Linked DNA regions of Homo sapiens: region 2 is linked to region 1. Evidence: promoter capture Hi-C in 16 types of primary human blood cells and fetal thymus (Javierre and others, 2016). All regions are on one chromosome and are shown on one strand. The core of a region is centred on a gene start or on the middle of the fragment in contact, and the rest is flanking DNA. Distances in the headings are between cores, read along the strand shown.

Region 1 (6,642 bases), core at 1,230-3,729:
TTGGGTAAGACATAATTTACTGATTCCTATAGCTAAAACCTGCAGAGGTCAGGATGATGTCAGGCATGACTGAATTCAGGAACTCAGGCAATGTCATTGGAACTTGATCTGTCTTTCCCTCCGTGGCTTGGCTCTACTTTTCCTCCCATTAGCTTCACTCTCAGTAGTTCCCTTTCACGTGGGGCTTCTGGCAGCTTCTCTTTCCAGCAGATCCACAAAATTCCCAGTCTTGTGAGATTTTCTTGGGATATGTGACGATCTCTCAATCAGCCCATTGACTAGGGCTGGGCGTGTTAATCAGGACTTTTCTAGTTGTGATAGGAAACTTAAATTCAAACTGCCTTAGGCTGAGTCACTTGTCTGTCCCTAAGAGCCAGTGGTAAATCAGCTCCATCCAGCATCCAATGTCTGCATAAAGGACCCAGTTTATGGCTTCTCCCTCTAGCCACTCCCAGAGGCAGTGACTACGTAGAGGGGCCTAGTAGGGAGTATGTGGCGGAAGGGAGGCCTTGAAGCTGTGTTCTTATAGCGTCCTATATGAAACTGAAAAGCATCAATAGCAAATAACAGAGAAGATCTAATGGAGATTATAGAGAGGTAGAGGGGACTAAAGGCCTCCCAAGTCACCCCTTGGTGCCACCCCTGTAACATATTTAATTTGTGGGGGAAGCAAAGGCCCAGTAGGACTGCTGGTGGCCCAGCCACAGTCCAAAACAGGCCCTAGAGAGGACGCGCTCTAACCACACACCCTAATTATTAGTCCCTGAATATAGATCAGTTTAGTTTATCCAAAGCCCCAGCTGAAGACACATCAAGTACTATTGCCTCTGTTCCATGTTTTGTTCCATATAAACATCCAGACACAGGTCTCATGGGAGAAACATCATGAGGCAGTTTCACAGTCCCTGGCTTTGATCTTTACGCTGTAGTAAAGGTGTCATTGGCCTTTCTGGGGCGAAGAGTCATGCTCTTCCACAAGAGTATCAAATTACTGCTCATTTTCCAATGTATATTCTTTCAGGGCCTTGCTTTCTTCTTACCTGCCCACACCAATGCTGTGAGGGAGACTGCTGATGGCGAAGGTGAAAATGGTCAGGCAATGTCATTGGGACTTGGTCTGTCTCTCCTTCCATTAGCCCACTTCTTTTATCCAGAAAGATTTCACTGCACTGGGGAAATAAGGAGAATAAAGTCTCATGCACTCACTCACATGAGAGAGACATGCATGTTCGGGTTTGCTCAATGGCACCCATCTGTCTCAAGTCTTGTTGTTTCTTTCACTCTGAGCATCTGCACTCCAAGAAGGCATGAACTTTTTCTTTCACTTCCTTTCTTCTATGGGTGATGACCTGACATCACTCTCAGAAGGAGGCCGAAAGTCGCTGAGTATAAAAATCGTCACTCCTATCTGGCTTAGGCAGAAGGTAGGGGGCTCGATGGGTACCCAGGAGCTCTGGAGGTAGGAGATGCCATCTAGGGAACCCCGTTCTACCTGAGGGCTCTGTGTCTCTGCCTTTGTATACTGGAGGGCACCATGGATGTCGCCTTCCCTCTGGAGTCCCCTTCACCATTTCCTCTCTAGAAGGATGGAAGGTGGGAGTGGGGTTGGCTATTGAAGCTGGAACGGGGAAGAAGGCCACTTGGGGTCTGCTGAGGGCTGGGTCTGCTCACTGCTGTGTCCGGAGTGGAAAGGAGAAGCCCGCTGGAGCAGGGTACAAGCCCAAGGGTCAAACTGCGCCAGCAGTAGAGCAAGCCGCGGTCTCAGGCTGCAGCCCTAGCAGAGGTCAGGCTGGTGCAGCCAGCCGTCTCGGGGCCTAAGGGCGCTGGCGGGGGCCGGTGGGTAGGGGTAGGAGTCCCCAAATGCCTTCATCTCAGCCCATCCTTCTCCACCGAAAAATAAAGCAGGCTGGCGAGATCGCCTCCTCACCCGCTCAGTCCTGAAGTGTCCAAGGATGAAACTGTGCGGAAATTCTCCCTGTCGCTCTCAGTTTGTGGGGGAAGCGCCGGGACTGAGGTACATGGTTAACACAGGCTGTGCGTGAAGGGGCTTTTGACTTTTCCCCCGGCTCCGGCCTCTCGCGTCTCTCTCCTAGGGCTGCGGCTGCTGCTGCCTGGCGGGCACAAGCCGGGCGGCGGTGCGCGGGGGGTGCGCTTACATAACCGCTCGCCGCGTCCTGCTTTCTCGAGCGCTCCTGCACCGTGGGGTGGCGGAGCCGGGGGACTGCATGGAACCCGGGACGCCCCCGCGGGGAGAGGAGCGCGAGCGGCCGCGGGAGGAGGGCGCCCAAGGCGGCGGGGGAGGTTAAGGTCAGTGGGTGTGAAGCGCCGGCTCCACACCCCCTCCTCCCCGGTCCCCTCCTTCCCTTCCTCTCCGTCCCCCTCTGACGTCTGGAGCTGGCAGCTCGGCCGGTTCCGCATTCCCGACCCCTCCCCGCCGCCCAGGGGCCGCTATATAGCCGGGGCTGATGCAACCCGTCCCGCCGCCCGCCACAGCCTGCGGGAGGGACGCTCGGCGGCCGCGACGGGGGGCGCTGGCGGCGGCGGACGCTGCAGCGGCGGCGGGGCTGGCGCCGCGGCGGCTCCCGGGCCGGGACAGGCCTGGGCACCGGGCGGAGCTCCGCGGCCGGGCGGCAGCGGCGCGGAGCGGGCACGGCGCCTGCAGCCGGGCCCCGGCCCCGGGGGCGCCGCCTCCCCCCGCACCTTCTGCACGGTGGGTGCGAGGGCGCGCGCTGGGGGCGCCGGGACGGGCGGGGCGGGGCAGGGCGCGGCGCGGGCACCTGGGACGGCCGCCCCCGCACGGGCGGAGCGCGAGGAGCCCCAGCCCAGCCCCGCGGGGAGGCTCCCGCAGCCCAGGGACCTCGAGCTTTCCCCGCGCCGGGCGCTGCAGCCGGGCCCCTCCCGCGAGGCGCCCGGCAGCCTGAGGCTTCCTTTTGGTTCCCGCCCCGGGACGGGAGGCTCCGTCCGCTCCCTGGACAGCCGGGGTGCTCCCTCCTTCTCCCTCCCGCGCTCTCCTCCCCCGTCCGTTTGCAGGGAGGTGCTCTCCTCGGGCGGCGGGGAAGGCGGGGTGAGTGGGGAGAAAAGTGCCCGCGGAGATGGGCTGTGCGGGTGGAGGTGGAGGGTGAAGGGCCAGGGAGGTGCGGGGTTGGGGTCGGGGTTAGATTGTGGAGGGATGACAAGGACCTCCTGGCAGTGAGGAAGCGCGACTCCCGGAGGACCCGGACCCGGAGGAGAGTATTGAGAAGGGCTCGGGATTTCCATCCAATGAAGGCAGCTTCTCTCATGGCCATTGCTTCGGAGCTCTGGGCTGGGAGGGGATCTAGGGGTGGCCGGGGTCCCCTTTGGGCTCTCCTGTCTCCCACGCCAGGTTATATAAGGAGGCAAGCAGGCTCCTGTAGGTAACCAGCCTCTCCCTTGCCCAGCCCAGCTTAGAAGGCTCTCCTCTGCTCCTCCCTTCAAAGGAGGTTGTCGAGGGGTAGGGGTGCAGTGGGGGGTGGGAGAGTGTAGGGGTGGATTGGGCCTTCCACCTGGATCCCTGGACCCTGGGATGGCAGAGCCAGGCTTTGCCTGGGTCAGTAGGAGGAGCAGGGAAGATGAGGAGGCTGGGGAAGATGGGGAGGTCCTGGCTCTTTTGCAGGGATGGAGAGGCTGGTGGAAGGAGAAATCAGCCGACCCCCTTGGGTCATCTCCAGTTGCAAGATGGCGTGGCCCTTGCCCAGGGTGCTGCCCTCCCTGTTGGAATCCAGGGCATGGGGCTATGGCCCGACCACGTGTGCTCAGGGCAAATGTGCTCAGGTCTATATCTCAGAAAGGGCTTGCAGCCTGCTTAGGCGTGTGTACCCAGGCTTAAATCTTGGTGGTCTCTCCCTAGGGTCTTAATTGGAGGAGCATCAGGAATTGGGAAGCTTTGAACCATGTTTGGGTACATTTGTACCCAAACGTCCTTTAAGCCCTTGGTAGAAACTGCATTCGCGTATCATCTCCCTTCCCCCCAACCTTCCTTCCCTGAGGGTTTTAAAAAACACTTCCCATTGCTTTTACCTTTCCAGCAAATCTGGCTGCAGCTTGGATGGATAGCTTATCTTCCTTTGCAGGTTTCTAGGGGAGAGTTTAACCAGGTATCAGGTGTGAGCATGGCTCTGATTTTGTATAAACCTGAGGATCGAGGAAGAGAAGCAAAATCTATTCTCACACCTCTGGGTGGTTAAGGTTTTGCCTTGTTTAGAGCAGGGAGGATGGATTTCTCAAAGACTCTTCTGTTCCCTTCTACTTTGGCTTTGGTTCAGAGCTGCAGGCAGCTCCAGAATCTTCCTGAAGAGCTGGGTGCTGTGTGATTTGAAGGGCTGCAGGAAGTCATGGGTGTGTAGACCTCTGGCTTTTCTCCTAGGTGGGCTGCAGGAAGTCATGGGTGTGTAGACCTCTGGCTTTTCTCCTAGGTTGGCTGCAGCCACCTCCAAGGAGATGTGTTGCAAAGTGGTGACAATGCCCCCTAGGAAGGGTTTGGATAAGGGTCTCCCCACTCATCCACTGCCTAACTTTTGCAGCTACCAGGGAATGCTCCTCCTGACTCCCTGGGTTTGTTGTCATCTCCCTACCTGTTTGTAGGATGTGTGGGCATTTTTTTCCAACCTGCAGAATCCCTGGCAGGAATAGGCTCTCTGGGCCTTGTTTGTCGTGGGGCTACTGGTGTTGCAATGGGCTGTCTCTCTCGAGTGTCTGTTTCCAGCTCCACTCTGGAAAGAAAGGGGCCAACGCCGACTCTAGGCCGGCCTGCTCTGTATTCATTCAGCTCCAGCTCAACTTGAGCAATCAGAGCCAGGGTTGAGGGCAAGCTACATTCTTTTCTGCCTTTCTGCTGCAGGATGCAGTTTGCTTTTTTTCCATGCGAATGAATTATGTTTGAAACCGAAATGGGAGGAAGAGAAAAATGGAGTGAGTGTATATGGGTATGTGTGTGTGCATACCTATATAGGCAGGGGAGGGCAGCAGGCACATTATTTTTCCATTTTCCTTTAATTAAGGCTCTGTGGAGGTGTGTTTGAAAACAGAGGGTCTCCTATGCCTTTGAGGAGGGTGAGAACACTGTTTTGGCTGCGTCCCGGGCCATATGCAGCGTATGGTGGCCAATGAAACCGGGCCTGGCTCATTCTGTTGCTTGTCTTGGCAGTCGGTTCCGTGGCTTGTATTACCAGCTCTGGAACTTAGGGGCTGCCAAGCTCCATGTGCCTGTGTATGTGTGTGTGCGTGTGCATGTGTGTGCACATGCGTTCTTGTGTGTGTGTGTGGTTTGGCCTCTCGGAACTCAGCAGAGACAAATGCCTTAGCGACCCAGTCTTGGAATTTTCAGACTGTGTTTCTTTACTTATTGCTGGCTGTGGGAGGCCTGGCCAGAGCCCACCATTCTTAGTTGTTGTTGTTTTTTAGTCTGTTTTCTTGCTGCAGCCCACGGGATTTAGTTGCAGAGCTCCATTTGCAAAGCTTCAGCTGGCCAGTGGCATTTTTTAAAAAAAAGACCAGGGCGATTATCACACCTTGTGTGTGTGTCTGTATTAGGTGTGGTAGTGTTAACCCCTGCCAGCCACCAAGGACCAGAGCTGGCGTGAAGTAGAAGGGAAAATAGAAAGCTTGTCCAATGGTTGTACGCTCCCAGCTTCCTCTTGCTGCCTGGGTTAAAGATTCCTGGCAGAGATAACTTCATATGTATTTATTGAGCGCCTACATTAGGCAGAGGACAAAGCGATGTTATAGGCAAGGCCTTGGAAGCATTTCTCTGGTCTCCAGGGAAGAGCAGGAGTTCCCTGGGGGTTGGTTCCAGGTTCTTCTATGGCTGGGATGGCTGTGCAGGGATCACGGCTGCCAGTGTTCAGTGGCTTCTCTTGAACCCAGCTACCGCTCCTTGTCTTCTTATGAAGCAGTGCAGGGATGGAGTAGAGGGCACAGGAGATGCTGGCTGTCTGCCTTGGGGCAGAAATGGAAACCTAGTTCTTGATGGCACCTTGTTGCCAGTGTCTGTGCAGCTGTGTTCTGGCCTGCAGGGTGGAGGAGACCTTAGAGGAAACCGAGGCCGAGGGCAGGTGCTGGGCCCCATTTCTGCACCTTCTACCCAGCCCTGACCTGGCACCCTTTGTTTCTGTTCTGCAGTCAACTGCCAGGATGCAAGATGGTCCTGCCCCCTTGGGGTTTAGAGCTGGAAAGTGGGAGAGCGGAGAATCCTCTGGGGAGAATCCTCTTCATGGCTGCAGGAAACAGAGACTAGTCCAGAAGGGACCTTGAGGGGTCATCTGGCACTAGTGCCCCTCCAGGAAGGAAGGCCCTGGTGGCCACACTGACTTCACTCTTACTATGTGCAGGCACTGTTCCAGGTACTTTCCAAGTATTAACTAATTTAATCCTCTTGACAGCCATACAGGGCAAATAACATTGTTATTCTTTACAGCTGAGGAAAGAGAGGCACAGAGAGGTTAGGGAACTTGCCCAAGGGCACACAGCTAGTAAGAAGGGACAGAGCTAGGATTCACACTCAGGTGATCTGGCTCCAAAACCGCCACTCTTAACCCCCCCTTCCTCTTGGCCTGCAGAGCTGGGGACAGCCATCTGAAGAGGGCCTTTTGCTGCTCGCCTTCACTCTCAGTCTTGGGGCCTTCC
Region 2 (6,642 bases), core at 1,684-4,183, 290 kb before region 1:
ACCTCTATTCATAACCAAACAGTCAAATTCCTATCTTCAAAGTTGATTTTATTTCCTCAACAAAATCTCTGCTGAGGCCAAGCGTGGTGGCTCACACCTGTTATCCCAATACTTCGAGAGGCTGAGGCAGGAGGATCACTTGAGCCTGGGAGGTCAAGGCTGCAGTGAGCCAAGATCATGCCACTATACTCCATCCTGGGAGACAAACTGAGACTCCGACTCAAAAAAAAAAAAAAAAAATCTATTGAATCCCATCTTTCATCCAGAAAATTATTTTCAGACCTTCATTAGTGGGATGAAGGTCTCATTTTGGTCTCATTTCCTAGAAGCCATTTTTGCCTAATAAGTACCTTCACTCATGATACTAATTTAAAATCTAGAAATCTTAAAGAAATCTCAAGAGACTAAAACAGTACTGAAATCTAGCTTGCCATTCCAAACACCTAGTACACCATGGATACTCAATAGTAAAAAACAACAATCATGGATATATTTCTATGTTGAATCTAAACCTAGAAATCCAAATAATATTTGGAGGAAATCAAAGAACAAAGATCTTTTCAAACCACCAAAATCTGACGGACTTAACAATTAAATGCTATTAAGGAAAGTAATTCCGCCTTCCTCCATGTGAGAACACAGTGAGGAGGCAGTATGCATTCAGAAGAGGACCCTCACCAGAACCTGACCACACTGGCACCCTGATCTTGAACTTCCTAGACTCCAGAACTATGAGAAATAAATTTCTGTTGTTTATTCTTTTTGAGATGGACTCTTGCTCTGTCACCCAGATTCTCCTGCCTCAGCCTCCCAAGTAGCTGGGATTACAGGCACGTGCCACCACGCCCAGCTAATTTTTGTATTTTTAGTAGAGACAGGGTTTCACCATGTTGGTCAGGCTGGTCTCGAACTTGTGACCTCATGATCCGCCCTCCTCGGCCTCCCAAAGTGCTGGGATTACAGGCGTGAGCCACTGGGCCTGGCCTGTTTATTTTTACAAAAGAAAAAAATTAGCCAGGTGTGGTGGCTCACGCCTGTAATCTCAGCACTTTGGGAGGCTGAAGCGGATGGATCACTTGAGACCAGGAGTTTGAGACCAGCCTGGCCAACATGGTGAAACCCAGTCTTTATTAAAATTACAAAAATTAGCTGGGCATGGTGGCGCATGCCTGTAGTCCCAGCTACTCAGGAGGCTGAGGCACGAGAATCCTTTGAACCTGGGAGGCAGAGGTTGCAGTGAGCTGAGATGGCACCGCTGCACTCCAGCCTGGGCTGGGTGGACTCTGTCTCAAAAAAATAAATAAATGAAGAAGTAGTAGTAGTAGTCAGTGGTTTAAAACAAAAAACAAAAAACCTTCACTGCAGGCAGGGCACAGTGGCTCATGCCAGTAATACCAGCACTTTGGGAAGCCAAGGCAGGTGGATTGCTGGAGACCAGGCTGGGCAACACAGCAAGACCCCATCTCTATTACAAAGTAGTAATAATAATAAAGAAAAAAAAACTTTATTGCAAGAATATATAACAATAGACTTTTATTACCAGCTTAAAACAAATATAAAAAAGTTTCTTGATTTTTTTTAAACATTTTAAGGCCTTAACGTTTTTTTCTGAGTTCTTATTATGTGCAAGGTACCAAGGTAAGTTATGATCTTAAGCTCTCACAGCTTATATAGTAAGTTATAACCATAATATATGGCTTTATGTAGTAACTTCTATAACAAAAAATACACATTAAAAACAGTTCTAGTTGGGAGGACAAAGTGAAGCTTAACAGGAAGTGGGTGAGCTGGGTCTCACAAGTTGGGCAGGACTTTTGAGAGGGCATTCAAGGCTGAGGGGAACCTGTAAACCAAAACACGGAGGGAGTAAAGTGCAGGCATGTTTAGCAACTACGAATAGTCTAGACATAAGTAGTCTGGTGTGCTAGAAACTAGACTATAGGGTATGTGTGCATGTACACACATAACTGCCACACACTTGTGCTTGGGGAGGGTAGGGGATAATAGCAAATAAAAGGCTCAAAAGTTAGGCTGAGACTAAATTAGGGAAGGGGATGAAAAAGGTAGTATAATGAATCAGAGCCATTCATATATGCTCACAATGTAGTATATTTTGTAATCTCATTTAATCCTCGTAACCCTATAAGGTGAATATTTTTATCCTTAAGTTTTGCAGATGAGGAAACTAAGGCTCTGAGGTATTAAATAATTTGCCCAAAGTATCACAGCTTGGTGCAGTTGGCATTAGAATCCAAGTCTATGTGAGTTTATTCTGTAAGTACTAGAAATTTAATAAAGAAAACCAGATGAGTATACTAAGTTTTTCCTGAATCAAAGGTGAAATGAACAAGCTATATTAGGCCACAAGGATCTATATAAGTTGTCCTGTTTGCTTGACTAATAAAGTTTGACTAATAAACTTCCTGGGTTTCCCATTGCTATTATTTTTGCAGGGCAACAGAGTAAAATTTTAAAACAAATCATGGTAAGTATTCTCAAGAAGACGCTCTTTACTTGCTCTGGACTAAGCATTCAATACATAGCATTGAGGCTTTATATCACAGTACAAAAAGCTAAAAAATCCTCAATATCAAAATTCCCACTTTCTGTTGTTCTGCTCTTGTAAGCAGTTGATTGAACTGTTCAGAGTATCTGTAAAAATGCCAAATTATACATGTTTCATGAAGGCAGGCTGGTATTCTATTCTACTCTCCTTCATCACTGGAAGCATGAGGTATGTTTTGCCAAGTCTGTAAGACAATGTGCACCACAGGTTCTCCAATAGGGGGTGATATCCCCCTGGCAAGCTGCATGTAGTTGTTAAATAATCAAAGGATGTTATAGTTACAAGGTGCTTCATTTTGCAGTGAGTCCCTCATTTTTCAAATGAGGAAACTAAAGATTCCATAAAGTTACTCAGCCCTTTGGGTGTCCAACCAAAATTAACAGTACCATGGTCTCTTAACTCCCTACCCAGGGTGATCACAGCATTTAAACTGCCAAACTCTGCTGTAAAATTCGAGAACAGAATCCCTGACTTCCAAAAGCATTTATGCTCTCTGTACCCAAATCTGACCTATCTTTCAAGCCTCCTTGAAAGCCTCCTTCAACCACTCTTGTCCACACTGTCTTCCCTGAAGCCCTACAACACATACTGTGTCACACAGTTAACACTCAATCATATATTGTCATATTCACAAATTGTTTTATTTTTATCCTGTCCCTCCACACTAGTTTGGCTCCTGAACTCAAGGAAATTAAAATGATTTATAGTTTATATAGTCGTAAAGACCTGAGACTTGGTAAACACTTGTAATTGACCTGTTCTGCCCACTCTATGCCTTCTTCAAAGAAGCCAACTTTCTCAAAGTAGCTAAGTGCTGCTGGTCCCCTGAAGCAAGTGTTTCTTGTATACTAAAAGCACTCTGCATTGATTTTTTTTCTTTCTTTTTTTTATTTTTTTGAGATAGAGTTTTGCTTTGTCACCCATGCTGGAGTGCAGTGGCACGATCTTGGCTCACTGCAACCTCTGCCTCCCAGGTTCAAATGATTCTCCTGCCTCAGCTTCCCGAGTAGCTGGGATTACAGGCGCCTGCCACCACACCCAGCTAATTTTTGTATTTTTAGTAGAGACAGGGTTTCACCATGTTGGCCAAGTTGGTCTTGAACTCCTGACCTCAGGTGATCCACCTGCCTCAGCCTTCCAAAGTGCTGGGATTACAGGTGTGAGCCACCGCGCCCAGCCTGCATCTATTTTCATGAGGCCCGCCGCCTAGGAGAAAGCCTTCTCTACCACCATATCTATTAACATCATTCTTACTGGTCATGGTAGGTACTGTTTGGAAAAGCTACAAGTTACAAAGCCTTTTTCTGTATAACACCTCCAAAATACCAGTAAAATTAAACTCTTCTAAAACCATATCCAAATCTTCCATTATAATGAAGATTTGAATCTAAAGAGTTCACAGAGTTATATGTAACTGTACCAAGAAAAGGTATTAATTCTCTGAAAAAACTGCTTCTTAAAACAGAGGTGTTAATCTAACCTCTAGGGAATCTCTAAATTCTTTTCCTTGGTGGAGCATCAAGATCCAAGAGAGAAGCTTCTTGTGACAAGACAAATTCAGTCAAAGTAGTTTGCTGCCTCCATGCCTCCCACCACAGCCCCCACCAACTCCAGGAGCACAGCAATAAATGTGAAGACCATCTAGTCTAACACAAGCAAGATAAACATAACAGAGCTGGCACAGTGGCTCATGCCTGTAATCCCAGCACTTTGGGAGGCCGAGGTGGCCAGATCACTTGAGGTCAGGAGTTGGAGACCAGCCTGGCCTACATGGTGAAACCCTGTCTCTACTAAAAATACAAAAATTAGCTGGGTGTGGTGGTGCACACTTGTAATCCCAGCTACTCGGGAGGCTGAGGCAGAATAATTGTTTGAACCCGGGAGGCAGAGGTTGCAGTGAGCTAAGATCACGCCACTGCACTACAGCCTGAATAACTGAGTGATACTCTGTCTCAAAAAAAAAAAAAAAAAGGACTTTGGATCTAGTACATGGAATCAGAGTTCCTCCTTCCTGAGAGCACTCAGAGAAACAGAACTTTTGGAAAGTCTTCAGCTGTTGCTCCAACCAGGGCAGCTGTGTTTTTGGAATATAGATTGATAGCAAATGACAGACAAATAGAATCGCCTAGGCAAAGCGGTATTTTACTCGTGGGACACACAGCCCAGGAGTTAGAAGATGTGTCAGATAGCTCCTTCTTTGTCGGACAGTAATTGCCTGCATTCTCCCAACTGCACAGACAGTAAGTCCCTACAAACAACTGCTCTAGTTCACAGATGACAAACTAAAAAGAAGTGGCTCGGTTCACATCCTGAATCTACAAAGATACACCCTCTGAAGGGCAGAAGTGAGACAGTGGTCAGAGGTTCATAAAATAAAATGCAAGAAATCAAAATCAAAAGTGCTTTATTTCCGAGGACAAAGGCATTCTTTCTCTTTAAAGAATTCAAACAACAAGACTTAATGCTTCTTCACAGTATGACAAGCATTCTGTCTTCCAAATAATATCATCTTACATTTGTATTGTGTTACATAGCAATTTCACATGGATTAATTAATAACAATTTAGGTAGGTAGTGTGGTACAATTACTATTCAATCTTACAGGACCACATGGGATTTCAGAATTATGAGTCCACAGATATGAGGGAGAGATGTGTTGGACATGAAAATTAAAGAAGTATGCCACATTCCCGAATCTTAATGCTGATGCCAAAGATTCCAAATCCTCTGGAGATAAAGCCTCTCCATTATCTCAAGGGCCTGAAATTAAATCGTTCAAGTGATTCTCTTGCTTCAGCCTCCCGAGTAGTTGGGACTACAGGTACCCGCCACCATGCCCGGCTAATTTTTGTATTTTTAGTAGAGATGGGGTTTTCGCCAGGTTGGCCAGGCTGGTCTCCAACTCCTGACCTTGGGTGATCCACCCACCTTGGCCTCCCAAAGTGCTGGGATTACAGGTGTGAGCCACCGTGCCCTGCCAGCTAACAGCCATTTCTAAGCAAGGTTCAAGGCAGCCTTGCTGCAGACTGAAGAAAGGGCTGGTCTTCGGACTGTGTCATAGCCATTCCTCCTCTACATCAATCTGGTCTGCTGCTGGGGAGCAGGGGTGAAGGGCAGGAGGGTGGGGATAGATGTTAAAGAAAGTAGTGGGGAGGAGTTTCTTGGTTAAGAAGCAGAACCTTGGAGCTGTGTTGTAACTACATGCGTAAAGGCAGGCTTAGGACATGTCAGACGTCTGAAGCAGGAAGCAGGCAAAGGAAGCACCGTGGTTTTCTTTGGGCTAGGGATTCCCCTCTTGGGTTAAGCAAAAGGTCAGGAAAGATAAAGCCCCTTTCCTAATGTCTATAAAGTCCAAGGATGATGGAAATTCCAGGAGGTATAGGGGTTCTAAAATGCTATACGACAGCTGTGTCCAAAGCATTCTTTATATAAACCCACAATAATGTCATCTGTTTTTGAGGGGAACTAGCTATGTCTACTGTCTAATAGGGCATTGATGTGTTGTTATTTAATAAATACCCTTGGGCTGGGCGCGGTGCCTCACGCATGTAATCCGCCAGCACTTTGGGAGGCCAAGACAGGCAGATCACGAGGTCAGGAGATCGAGACCATCCTGGCTAACATGGTGAAACCCCGTCTCTACTAAAAATACAAAAAATTAGCTGGGCGTGGTGATGGGTGCCTGTAGTCCCAGCTACTCGGGAGGCTGAGGCAGGAGAATGGCGTGAACCCGGGAGGCGGAGCTTGCAGTGAGCAGAGATCCCGCCACTGCACTCCAGCCTGGGCAACCAAGCGAGACTCCATCTCAATAAATAAATAAATAAATACCCTTAATGACAGGCATCATGTTGGAGAAAAAGATTACAATAGGTAAAATTCCACAGAGTACAAATTCAACTGAGAATGGTCCACAGTTCGGGAACAGAAGCAGTAACCACAAACTGGAAATCATTTTACCTATTCTTCTACCTTATAATAATGAGAACATTCTCCCTAGTGTTTTATATCTTATAAAAGCACTTTAACATAATCTTATTTAAATATAATTAAGATTCTTCTGAATCATGAAGGTTTAA

The links. The method cuts DNA at HindIII sites, captures the fragments that hold promoters and counts their contacts. A CHiCAGO score of 5 or more calls a contact.
Region 2: a contact is called between a fragment that was not itself captured here and the fragment with the promoter of JDP2 in region 1, in 11 of 17 cell types (monocytes, neutrophils, M1 macrophages and 8 more). The highest score is 25.0, in monocytes.

Annotation. Positions count from the first base shown.
Region 1 is chr14:75,425,543-75,432,184 of GRCh38, forward strand. It overlaps JDP2 (Jun dimerization protein 2), which reads left to right and starts at 2,480. Exons shown (of 4, transcript NM_001135048.2): 1 at 2,480-2,710. JDP2-AS1 (JDP2 antisense RNA 1) reads right to left here and starts at 2,113. Exons shown (of 2, transcript NR_184172.1): 1 at 1,928-2,113; 2 at 1-1,169. RefSeq lists enhancers at 1,249-1,348, 1,599-1,928, 1,949-2,008, 1,976-2,533 and silencers at 2,199-2,468, 2,719-2,898, 2,959-3,128. The HindIII fragment of the contact is 6,934 bases long and covers 1-3,900 here.
Region 2 is chr14:75,139,414-75,146,055 of GRCh38, forward strand. The region is part of intron 3 of TMED10 (transmembrane p24 trafficking protein 10); the gene reads right to left. Among named protein-coding and RNA genes, the nearest start is that of NEK9, 16 kb to the left of the region's middle. The HindIII fragment of the contact is 2,336 bases long and covers 1,766-4,101 here.